Regions from separate parts of the Homo sapiens genome. Here region 1 is linked to region 2. The links are contacts of gene promoters, found by promoter capture Hi-C in blood cells and fetal thymus (Javierre and others, 2016). All regions are on one chromosome and are shown on one strand. The core of a region is centred on a gene start or on the middle of the fragment in contact, and the rest is flanking DNA. Distances in the headings are between cores, read along the strand shown.

What was found. The method cuts DNA at HindIII sites, captures the fragments that hold promoters and counts their contacts. A CHiCAGO score of 5 or more calls a contact.
Region 1: a contact is called between a fragment that was not itself captured here and the fragment with the promoter of GON4L in region 2, in 1 of 17 cell types (naive B cells). The highest score is 5.4, in naive B cells.

What each region holds. Positions count from the first base shown.
Region 1 is chr1:155,317,847-155,323,018 of GRCh38, reverse strand. It overlaps FDPS (farnesyl diphosphate synthase), which reads right to left. Exons shown (of 11, transcript NM_002004.4): 5 at 4,998-5,078; 6 at 4,728-4,850; 7 at 4,266-4,354; 8 at 4,091-4,163; 9 at 3,331-3,408; 10 at 3,091-3,225; 11 at 2,354-2,610. The coding sequence ends at 2,410. It overlaps RUSC1-AS1 (RUSC1 antisense RNA 1), which reads left to right. Exons shown (of 6, transcript NR_145424.1): 2 at 582-776; 3 at 1,324-1,394; 4 at 3,087-3,216; 5 at 4,623-4,754; 6 at 5,014-5,172. RUSC1 (RUN and SH3 domain containing 1) reads right to left here and starts at 2,125. Exons shown (of 10, transcript NM_001105203.2): 1 at 2,028-2,125; 2 at 1-1,331. The coding sequence starts at 1,245. RefSeq lists silencers at 1-53, 2,034-2,183 and an enhancer at 435-1,418. The HindIII fragment of the contact is 2,302 bases long and covers 2,772-5,073 here.
Region 2 is chr1:155,855,964-155,861,452 of GRCh38, reverse strand. It overlaps GON4L (gon-4 like), which reads left to right and starts at 4,239. Exons shown (of 32, transcript NM_001282860.2): 1 at 4,239-4,306. SYT11 (synaptotagmin 11) reads right to left here and starts at 1,886. Exons shown (of 4, transcript NM_152280.5): 1 at 1,658-1,886. The coding sequence starts at 1,691. RefSeq lists enhancers at 1,646-1,745, 1,936-2,045, 3,286-3,873, 4,160-4,359. The HindIII fragment of the contact is 10,340 bases long and covers 1,636-5,489 here.

The DNA of each region.
Region 1 (5,172 bases), core at 2,673-5,172, 540 kb after region 2:
AGGTCGGTTCTTCTTCCTTCGGGGAGGGACAGGCGGGGGTGGGGGCCGGGGCGGGACCAAAGCCCAGCCAACTGGGGGGTCTCGAGGCGGGACTGGCGGGGCTGGGGCCCGGCTTCGGGACCGGAGTTCCTTGAAGGTGGTGACTTCCCGAGGAGGTGCCGAGGAGCCGCCCGGCGACCCCGAGGGGGGGAGCTCGGTGTCGGGCGAGAAGACTATGAGCCAGTCACTGCGATCTTTCTTCGCCTGCGGGACAAGGGGCAGCCCTGGGCCCCGCTTGCGCTTCTGGGCCAGCTCGTGGAAGGACGTGATTGTCCGGTGGGGCACCGGCTCCTCGCTGACGTCACTTCTCCATCCTCCATCAATTTTCCCTGCATCTGTTTTCGAGCCAGAATCAGTTATTCTTGTGTTGGTTTTCCAACCAGAGTCGAATTTTTCAGGTTCACTTTTCCAGCTAGAGTTAACATTCCCGTTGTTTTTCCAACCAGTGTTATTGTTTTCAGTGGTTTTCCATTCAGCTTTAGTTTTCTCTGTGTCAATTTTCCAAATTGGGTTAATCTTCCAACTGGGCTCCGTTTTCCCAGCGTCGATTTTCCCATCATCCGCCTCTAAGAGCTCAGAGGTAGGGAGATCCTGCTCCGCCCTCTCGTCCTCTTCCTCCAAGCCTGGGGAAGGGACGTCCTGGCAGGTGGTCAGGGCGTTGCAGTTCGAGTCCAGGCCAGGATCGGGTGAAGAAGAAGCTCCGGAGCAGGAATCAGGAGAGCAGCAGAAGCTGTCCGGTGAGCAGGTGCCAGGGCCTGCTGAAGCCAGTGGGGAGCCCTGCTCCAGGGGGATGATACTGGGCTGAGGGTGGGCATCCTCATCACCAGGGAGGTCCCGCAAGTAGACTGAGACAGGGGACTCATCGGGGCTAAGATCTGAGCAGGAGCTGAGTGAGGAGGAGCAGCCTGGGTCTGAGGGAGAGGCAGCCCCCTCTTCCTCCTGTGACGGGTCCTGCCGGTTTTCTAGGCCCGGACCGTGCTCCTGGCAGCACCGGCAGGGCACAGCTGGGCTGTTGGAATTGGCGTCCACCAGGGTGCCACTGCAGGGGCCCCTGCTCTCCTTGCCCCCAGTGTCTCCTGGAGGAGGGGGTGTGCTCAAAGGCCCCTCCTGTAGCTCAGGACGGCGGGACAAGTGCAGGCCCAGGGAGACGTGCTGGAGGTGGATGTGGTTGAGGTTGCAGAGTAAAGCTCTCTGAGGGGACAGCATGATGCTAGCGGCGATGGGATGGCTTCTAGAGAACCAGAAGGGTAGGGTCTCTCACATCCACCTACCTGGCAACCACAGGTGCAGACCTAGAAGACAGAGGTGGTGAAGCCCGGCCAGTGAGGACAAGAGCTGCGGGGAAGGACACCGAGGTGACTTGACGGCAGCAGCAGGCCTGAAGGCTCTGGCTGCTTTGGAAGATATTTCAATGAGATGCAAATCGCAATCGACTGACCATTAGTTTCCACTGCAGTGTTTGCAGATGGAGTCGAATGTAACCCCCCGGGAATGGAGCCGGGAGGGTCAGAGAACGCGGCTGCGCTCTGGATCTCCGAAGGGGGGCGGGGGCCTGGAAGAGGTCCGGGCCCAGAATGGACCTCCAGGTCCCTGCTGCCGCAATCTGGCCCTGCCCTCCAGCCTACCCCTTACTCCCAGAGGAAGGGACCCAGGGAGACCCACCCAGATGCCCTGAAAGGAGGTGGAGGATGGGGGTGGGGCAATACGCAGAGTTTGTCTGGTGAATGCAGGAAAGGGGTGGGGGCTGGAGAGGAAAAGGATGGAGCAGCCGTCAGCTTGTCAACTCCGCATCTGCTGGCTGCCTCGGCCGGGCTCCAGCCTGCGCCCTCGCCCCTCGGAACAGCGGTATGTCCATTCTCTCCGCATTCGTCTCCATCGTTCAGCCACCACCGCACCCTTTCTCTATTCATTTCTCCTGCTCCCTTGTCCTGCCCCGCCCCTCGTGCCCAGGTCCATCGGTCTACACCCATGGGCCGAGCCCTCCTCACCAGGGTCCTCCTGGAACCGCTCCGGCCTTGGGCTTGTCCGCGGCTCCCACGGTCCCCGCCCGGCGGGGCACAGAGCGGGAGGGGAGGGGCACTAGCACAACCTACCCTGCGCTGCGCAGCTGCACCCCTTCGCGCATGGGCGTGGCGTAGCTCAGACCCGCCCCCAGCGTTTAGCGTCTTTTGTCACCCACCTAGAGGGTTTGATATATCCTAAGCTTTTGGCCCCTGGGTCCTGGTTCCGTGCAGCGAGTCCTCCCAGCACCCCACCCTGCACATTCTGGAAAGAGCCAGACTCTGGCTGGGCCGAGCAAGAACAGAACCACAAGAAGGTTACACGATTATTTATTGAGAGCCTCCTCTCCCCGCCCTTGCAATCTCTAGGTCACTTTCTCCGCTTGTAGATTTTGCGCGCAAGCCCCAGAAAGACGGCTGGGGGCAGGGGTGCTGCGTACTGTTCAATGAGAGCCATAATGTGGCTGTAACTGTCTTCCTCATATTGCAAGAACACTGCTGGCAGATCCAGCTCCTCATATAGCGCCTTCACCCGGGCCACTTTCTCAGCCTCCTTCTGCCCGTAATTTTCCTGGAAGAGGTTGAAAGACAGGAAAACGGGCTTGGCCTTCCCCAGAGCCTCCAGGACCCCTCCACTCCCCTCATTCACATATTCCAGAACATCTCCAAAGCCACCCACTCCTTTCCTCCCTCCAATTTTCAAGTGTCTCTACGTAGCTAAAATCCCAAGCTTCCCTTCCCTATCCCAAATATTGCCTCATACCAGGCATCCTCTACTCCAGGGTTTCTCCACCTTGGCACTATTGAAATTTGGGACCAGATAATCCTGTCTGGGGGAGCTGTTCTGTGTACTACATGTTTGGCAACATCTTTGGCTCCTGCCAACTAGATGTCTGTACCACATGCACACACACAGAGTTGTAATGACAATGGCAAAAAATGTCTGCTGACATTGCCAAATGTCCCCTCGGGAGGAAAACTGCCTCTAGTTGAGAACCACTGCTCTATCCCTTTCCACCAACTCAGGGACCCACCACCCTCTCTCAGGCACCTTCAGGATCTGGTACTGTTCTGGAGTGGCCCGTTGCAGACACTGAACCACCAGCCAGCTGCATTTGTTGTCCTGGATGTCAGTGCCAATTTTGCCGGTCACACTGGGGTCCCCAAAGAGGTCAAGGTAATCATCCTGGGCAGGGAGGGGGAGGGCAGCAAAAGAGGAAGGATGAGGTTCCTGGGCAGAGGAGGAGTGAAGCTGGTGCCTGTTCTCTGCTACTGCCTCCTGCCTTCTTACCTGAATCTGAAAGAACTCCCCCATCTCCAGCAGGATCTTCTTGGCATTGGCGTGCTCCTTCTCGCCATCAATTCCTGCCTGCAGGGAAAGGGGGGTTAATAAGCCAAACCCCAGGGGTGCCGGCATCTTCCTGGCTGCTTCCTCCCATGGGGTCTTGCCCTACTGCAGCCCCAAATCTTTCCTCTCTCTTCAGACATCTTGGCTTCCCTGACCTAGACAGTCCTGACTGATGGTCCAACCTCAATCCCACTTATTTTTGGCTAGGCCTTCCTGGGAGTCATAAAAGAGATGAATCCATTCTAGAGGTGCACAGCCTGTCTCTTCCCTCACAAATGTCAGTCCCCAAGTCATTCTGATCCACCTTCCTAATATTTTTGCCACCTCCAACTTCTTTCAAGATGAAAAGGAAATGTAGAGAAGCAAGGTCAGGGTAGACACTTAATCCCACTGACTGTCTTTAATCCACTCTTCTCCCTCTCAACCTGGATGATCTCCACACTCCTATCCATACTCAGATACAGGATATATTGTTCCCCTATTATGTGCTAAGCACTTTCATATCCCTTGCCTTGCTTAATCTTTACAGTCCTGTGAAGTAGGAATTTTATCCCCAGCTGAGGAAAGAGACTGAGCGAGACCGACTTGCTCAAGGTCACACAGTTTTTCACCAGGGGTAGCAGTGTTCACGTTTTCTGCTCTATGCCTTGCTGTCCAAAAGCCCCCATCAGCAGAGCAGAGAGGGGTGAGGAGGCTCACTCACCATGTACATGGCTGCAGCTATAGGAAGGTAGAAGGAGTAGAAAGCTGTCTTGTACTTGACAATAGATTTGTACCTGAGTAAGGGGAGAAGAGAAACTCCTCAGGAGGGCAATGCACATCCTGAGCCCTCCCTCGCTGTCCAGACATGGTTCGCGCTGTCCCTCACCTCCCCTCACCTCTTTTCAGTGAATCTGACAAGATCCACATTGCCCTGGGGGGCTGTGAGGAGGTCCAGGGTCTGCCCAATCTCAGTCTGATAGGAACTCTAAGCAAGACAAAGACGGTCCATGAGCCAGGCTTTCTCCAGATATGCGAAACCCTGGTATCCCAAGCCCAACATCCCATACCAGCTGACAACTGGGCAGAATCAGAAAGGCAACAGAAGGGGAGAAAGCCCCAAAACTTAAGGCCCATATTCATACACACAGTCCTTTATCACCCTTTCTTCCAATTACACAGGACAGAGAAGCCCTTTCTTGCCACTACCACAACCCCACTTCCCAACACCCTTCCTCGCTTTCTTTCCCTTCCAGGCACGCTGCAATCCTGTACCCTGAAACCAGCTAGATGAGCATGTCCTATAGAGGCCAAGGCTACCATGGGCACCCTCTGGGCATCGGGCCCTGTCTGCAATACACCTGCAGGAAGAGCTCGATCAGGTTCAGGTAATAGGGCTGCTCCCGGCAATAGAGCTTCAGCAGGCGGTAGATACATGCTTCCAGGAGGTTAGCATCATTGATGGCATCCAAACCCACGCCCGGCTGTCATGACAGACAGAAAAACAAGCAATCAATCTCTAGTCTCGGTTCATACTAAGAGCCATCACCCCAACACCTCAACCAGGCCATATATAACCACCTCCCTGTGGCCTGTCCCCATACCCACTGCTATTTTCCTGCCCACATTACCTTCTGATACCAGCAGATCTGTCCCCGGCGGGTAAGGGATGAATCCATGATGTCATCTGCCACCAGGAAGAAAGCTTGCAGCTAGAAAGAGTGGAATAAGACCTGCAGGGCTCCTCATTACTGTTCCTTCTATCAGCAACAGAGCTGCTACTTTATATCTGTATATAGTTTTGCT
Region 2 (5,489 bases), core at 2,990-5,489:
CCTTTCCCAATAATAGTCCCTCTAAGAGAAATCACTATATTATGTTCCACACCATCTCCTTTTTTCAAGGATTCTGGAACTGCAGTTAGAGAAAGGAATCTGTTGGAAGGGAATAAGAAGAAAAAGAACAGGAAGAAATCATGGATTGCTCATGTGATCATGAAAGGGACTTTTGTTTTGGAAACTTAGAACTCAAAGAATAAAGATGCGGAAGGTGAAGTGGAAGAAAAAATACCATCAAGATTTAGCCTTGTGGAATAAGTGAGAACAAGTAGTTAATGAGTGTGAAGATCAGTTATCTGAACACATCTGATTTGATTTCTTCTTCCTTATTCTGAGGGGATAGAGCACACTGGATTCTGCTCATTTCACTGTACCTCTTATTCAGGAATGAGAAAAGCCATTTCCTAGCTGGATTGTGTCTCCACCCTAAAAACTGGAGTCCCGATGCTCAAACCTACTGGATTGTCTGAGGGATAGAATCCCTGAAGGAATAAGAAGGTTCTTTGGCAGCAACTCTCACTGGCTTCCCCCATCTAAACTGAATCAAGGAGAAGCAGGGCAATTATATTTTATTTATTTGATCAGGAAAGCATAACACAGGAAGTTTGCTCCTTTAGCATATACTGCAGGAGTCCCCAAAGAGGAAAAAACTTCCTTCTCAAGCTTGTCTTTGCCACCTTCTTCCCTATTTTCCACTCCACTTTCTGCTCCAGAGAGTGTAAAACTAATCTTGGAGCCCACAGGGCTGGGTCGGGGACCAGCCGCTCTGAAATGACGTAATGCTTTCTGCGGTACACAAAGCGGCCTCCCCCGGGCTGGGCCTCTTTCGCCCCTCCCCCTCCGGCCTGGATCGCGCCCCCGCCAGCATCAACGCTGGTCAGTCCCCCTTTTTGAAAAGGCGGCCCAGGGAAACAGGGAACAAAGGCCCCGGAAGGAGAGCGTCGGCGCTGCCAGGAGGCCCAGAAATAGACATCACGTCATCCCCCAGCCCAGCAGCGCCAAGCGCCATTTGGTAGCATCGGAGGGACCCCACCATTACGATGCGGAATGGAGCTTGCAGGGCTCACGTTTCCTCCTAGCCCCAGCATCCAGCTGACCGGCTTAAGGAGTGGCTTCCTTTTTGCTCCCCACCCCGCACCCCTCTTTCCCCAGAGGCCGCCGCCTCCCCTGGCTGCCAGCCACACGGCCCACAGTCTCCAAGCTGCCATCTTGATGCCCCATCCCCCTTGTCACTTCCCTCCCCCGCAGCCCTTAGGAATGGGAGGGGGAGGAAGGGGCACCGCCCTGTGTGCCCCAAGGGGGAGGGCTTGGCCTACCCCACCTCTCCTCCCCCAGAAGGAGGGGTTCACATCCTCCGCACGCTTGCTGTTTCTCACCTCCAGCAGTGCTGACAGTGCACCATACAAGGTTTTAGCATCCTGGACTTCCCCACCCTCGGTGTGGCTCAGGCCCTGCCAGTCCCTGCAGCCCATAGCTCAAGTTCATGCACTGTCAACTGCCCACTACCCACTACCCACCACCACAGGCCCGATTTTAGTGGGGCTGGCATTTTGAAGGCTCTGGTCTGGGCTGCATTCTCTGCCCTGCCGCTGGGCCCCCTTGGCCTTGCAACCATTCTGACCACCTCAAGCTTAGTTTTCCCGAGTCTACTTACCAAAGCTAGGTCGGATATTGGTGATCTCAGCCATGTCGTAATCAGAGGCTGTTGCTATAACGTTTTTGCAATGGTGAGACAGCTCTGGGAACCCTCGGTCAGTACCGAGGCAGCAGCTGTAGAGCTCTAGGTCAGGGAAGGGGGAAGGTATCCAGCGGACGCCTCCTGCGACGGTCCGGCCCCTAGTTGTCAGCTGCGCTCAGCTCTTAAGATGCTCCGGGGATGCGCTGAGCTAAGGATGCAGGTGCAGTCAGACTGGTCCTGATGAGAGGTAGGCTCCGCCTTCTTCCGAATGGTCCTCGGAAGAAGACTCCGCCTCTTCCGAATGGTCCTCGGAAGAAGACTCCGCCTCTTCCGAAAGATTACGGAAGTCAGCCCTCGCCCCCTTCAGGAAGCTCTCCCGGAGGGGACTCCTCCCACCGCCGAGTTTTCCCGAGAATGAGGCCGCGCCCACTGACGCGCTGTGGTTCCAAAACGAGAAAGTACTGAAGGGTAAGAAGCATAGGTAGATTATTATATGAAATCCTCTGATTTCAGTTTTCTGGGCTTTAATACAGCAGCAAAATGTTCTCGGTCCTGAGTTCCAGAATTTTGGGAAAATAAAATTCTGTACTGCCTGGATTTCAGTATCGACTGCCATCATTATGCATTTCTGAGACCGCTAAAGGTTATTACAGAACTTTTTTTTTTGGCTTATATTTCACAGTGGATGGAAACTGTCTTAAACCTCAGAAACTCTGATGAAAGACCAAACCTGGGGATGGTTGCACAACTCTGAACATTTACTAATTTTAAAAAAACAGCCGGGCACGGTGGCTCATGCCTGTAATCCCAAACCTTTGGGAGGCCAAGGCGGGCAGATCACTTGAGGTCAGGAGTTCGAGACCAGCCTGGCCAGCATGGTGAAACCCCCATCTCTACTAAAAATACAAAGATTAGCCGGGCGTGGTGGCACACGCTACTTGGGAGGCTGAGACACGAGGATCGCTTGAGCCCAGGAGGTGGAGGTTGCAGTGAACCGAGATCGCGCCACTGCACTCCAGCCTGGGCAACAGAACAAGACTCCGTCTGAAAAAAAAAAAAAAAAAAAAATTTGGTTGTACACGTAAAACAGATGGATATTGTGGTATGCAAAGCTGTTTAAAAAAAAAAAAAAAAACAACTAATGAAAAGTGCCAAAGTTAATCAGTGTTGAATTTTTTTCATGAACCTCAAGTGCTTAGGGTTTCGTATGAGAGAGGCCAAACCGAAAGATCTGTGTATTCTGTAGGTCAAAGAACAACACACATGAAACTCCGAGCTTCTGGAGTCTTCCTTGGTATTTGGGAGAGTTGGTGTGATTCAGGTTAGTCAGACTACTGCCATGTTTGCATAAATTTCAACCTTCATTTTGGCTGTGGATAATTTCATCCGTTGGATTCTGTTTACAGATAGGATTAGTTCAAATGTATAAATTTGTGTTGGTGGTTTACCTGTAAAATGAGGGGGTTGAAAGTATTTTTCCACCTTTTGACATTCTGTTTTTTATTATTTTTTTAATCTCCGTGGATTCCAGACATTGTTTTTCTAGAAAAGTGGAAATAACATCATTTTAGAAGTCATTCATTCATTCGCTCATTCAAAAAGCACGTATTGAATTATTGAACATCTGTTACACCCCAGGCAGCCTCCTGGACACTGGGTCAATGCATTATTAGCTAGAGTTAGGAGACTTAATACCTGATTCTCCTTGATAGCTGTCTGTGTACCGTTGTGAAATCACCTACTCAGATGAGCCAGAACTTTGTCCTGTGCAAACTGGAATATGATATAATAATCTTACAGTCTATTGTGGAGACCAAGTCACCTAAGAAAATGTGAGAGCATTTTGTAAAATGCAGAATATTGTACATATATGAATAATTACTATAGCCTGAGTCCAAGAGTGCCTTAGTTTTAATCAGGAGCCTGCACTATTTGTAATTTAGAGACTTCTTTTTCTGGCATTTTATGACTTCTTCAGTCCCTTGGTCCTGTGTTCCAGGTGACTCGTAGTGAGAAAAATTAGTTGTTAATCTTTTTTTTTTTTTGATACAGAGTCTCACTGTCGCTCAGGTTGGAGTGCAGTGGCACGATGCCGGCTCACTGCCACCTCCGTCTCCCGGGTTCAAGCGATTCTCCTGCCTCAGCCTCCGGAGTAGCTGGGATTACAGGCGTGCGCCACCACGCCCAGCTAATTTTGTATATTTAGTAGAGACGGGGTTTCACCATGTTAGCCAGGGTGATCTCGAACTCCCGACCTCAGGTAATCCGCCCGCCTCCGTCTCCCAAGGTGCCGGGATTACAGGCGTGAGCCACCGCGCCTGGCCCCCAAATTAGCTGTTAATCTAAACCACTGAATCTTAACCTCAGTTTTGAGTAGGATAACTCCATGGGCAGAGAAAGCTAAGTAGTGCCTTTAAATTTTTTTGCCAATAACTGACGCACTAACGTTGTGGCTTCACTCTGCCCTAAAATGGGATGGCGCATAGTGTTAGGCGCATGCTCCTTGATGCACTGCGGCGCGGCGCTCCGAGGCTCGGGGACGCGCACGCAATTCGCTGTTGTTGGCTGACTTCCGGTGGTGCCAAAGCCGTTTCCGTGGAATCAGGCCGGCTGGTGAGGGTACAGGTTTGTGTGTGGTGGGGTGGGAAGAGGCAGGTGGGAGCTGGGACACCTGGACGAACGATGTCCAGGTTGAGAAGGTCGGGTCTGAGGGTGGGCGCTGGGTGCGTGGCGGAAGTTAAGGGCGTGAAGTCCAGTGTCTAGTTGGGAATGGGGACTGGAGCCAGCCCTGGGCACCGAGGTGGAAGCGCGGTTAGGACCCCTTTTGAAAATGTTTTCCTAGGAGAGGGCCGTGCCGGGGCTGCCTCCACATTGGCATTCATTCACCCTGCTGGTCCGACTTGGGTTCCCAAAAAAGTGGATTCTGTCGAGCTACTGCTGTGTTTGAGGTGCCTGGAGCTGAAGTAGCTGTCTTTCTTTCCTTCTTTTTCTTTCTTTCTTTTTCTTTTTTTCCCCTTTTTTTGATCTCAGTAATTATCTGTGAAATAAAAGAGCTGCCCTGGCTACTCCCATTCTATTTCTTATAAGGTCACCACCATCTCTCACAGGAATCAACGAAATCTTCATGTTTTATTGAGCTTTAGTTACTGAGTTTTAATTACATCAGTTGATTGAGGGGATGGAGAATCTCCCCTAATGTCTTGGAGAAACAGAAGGGAGGTTTAAAACTAACTGTAGGTCGGGCGCGGTGGCTCACGCCTCTAATCCTAGCACTTTGGGAGGCTGGGGCGGGAGGATCGCTTGAGGCCAGGAGTTTGAGACCAGCCTGGGTAACAAATCGAGACCCCGTCTCTACAAAAAAAAAAAAAGAAAAAAAGTCGTTGAGGGTGGTGGCAAGTGCCTTGTAGTCCTAGCTACTCGGGAGGCCGAGGCCAGAGGGTCACTGGAGCCCAGGAGTCTGAGGCTGCAGTGAACTAGGATCTTGCCACTGCACTCCGGTCTGGGCAACAGAGCGAGACCTTGTCTCTGGAAAGAAAGAGAGAGAGAGAGAAAGAAAGAAAAGAAGAAAGAGAAATCTAACCTTAGACGCTTAGAGTTACAAATAACTTTTATTTTTCAGTTCTCTAGTTCAGGCTTTCATCTAGTACTCTGATAAGTGGACATTCAGGCTTCGCTTGAACATTGCCAGTGATCTAACACAAGGCGGCTTATTCTATTATTGGATCTATTTATGACAGTAAAGTTTTCCTGGGTAATAAGATGCCTTTTTTTTTTTTTTTTTTTTTTTTTTTTGACAGAGTCTCCCTCT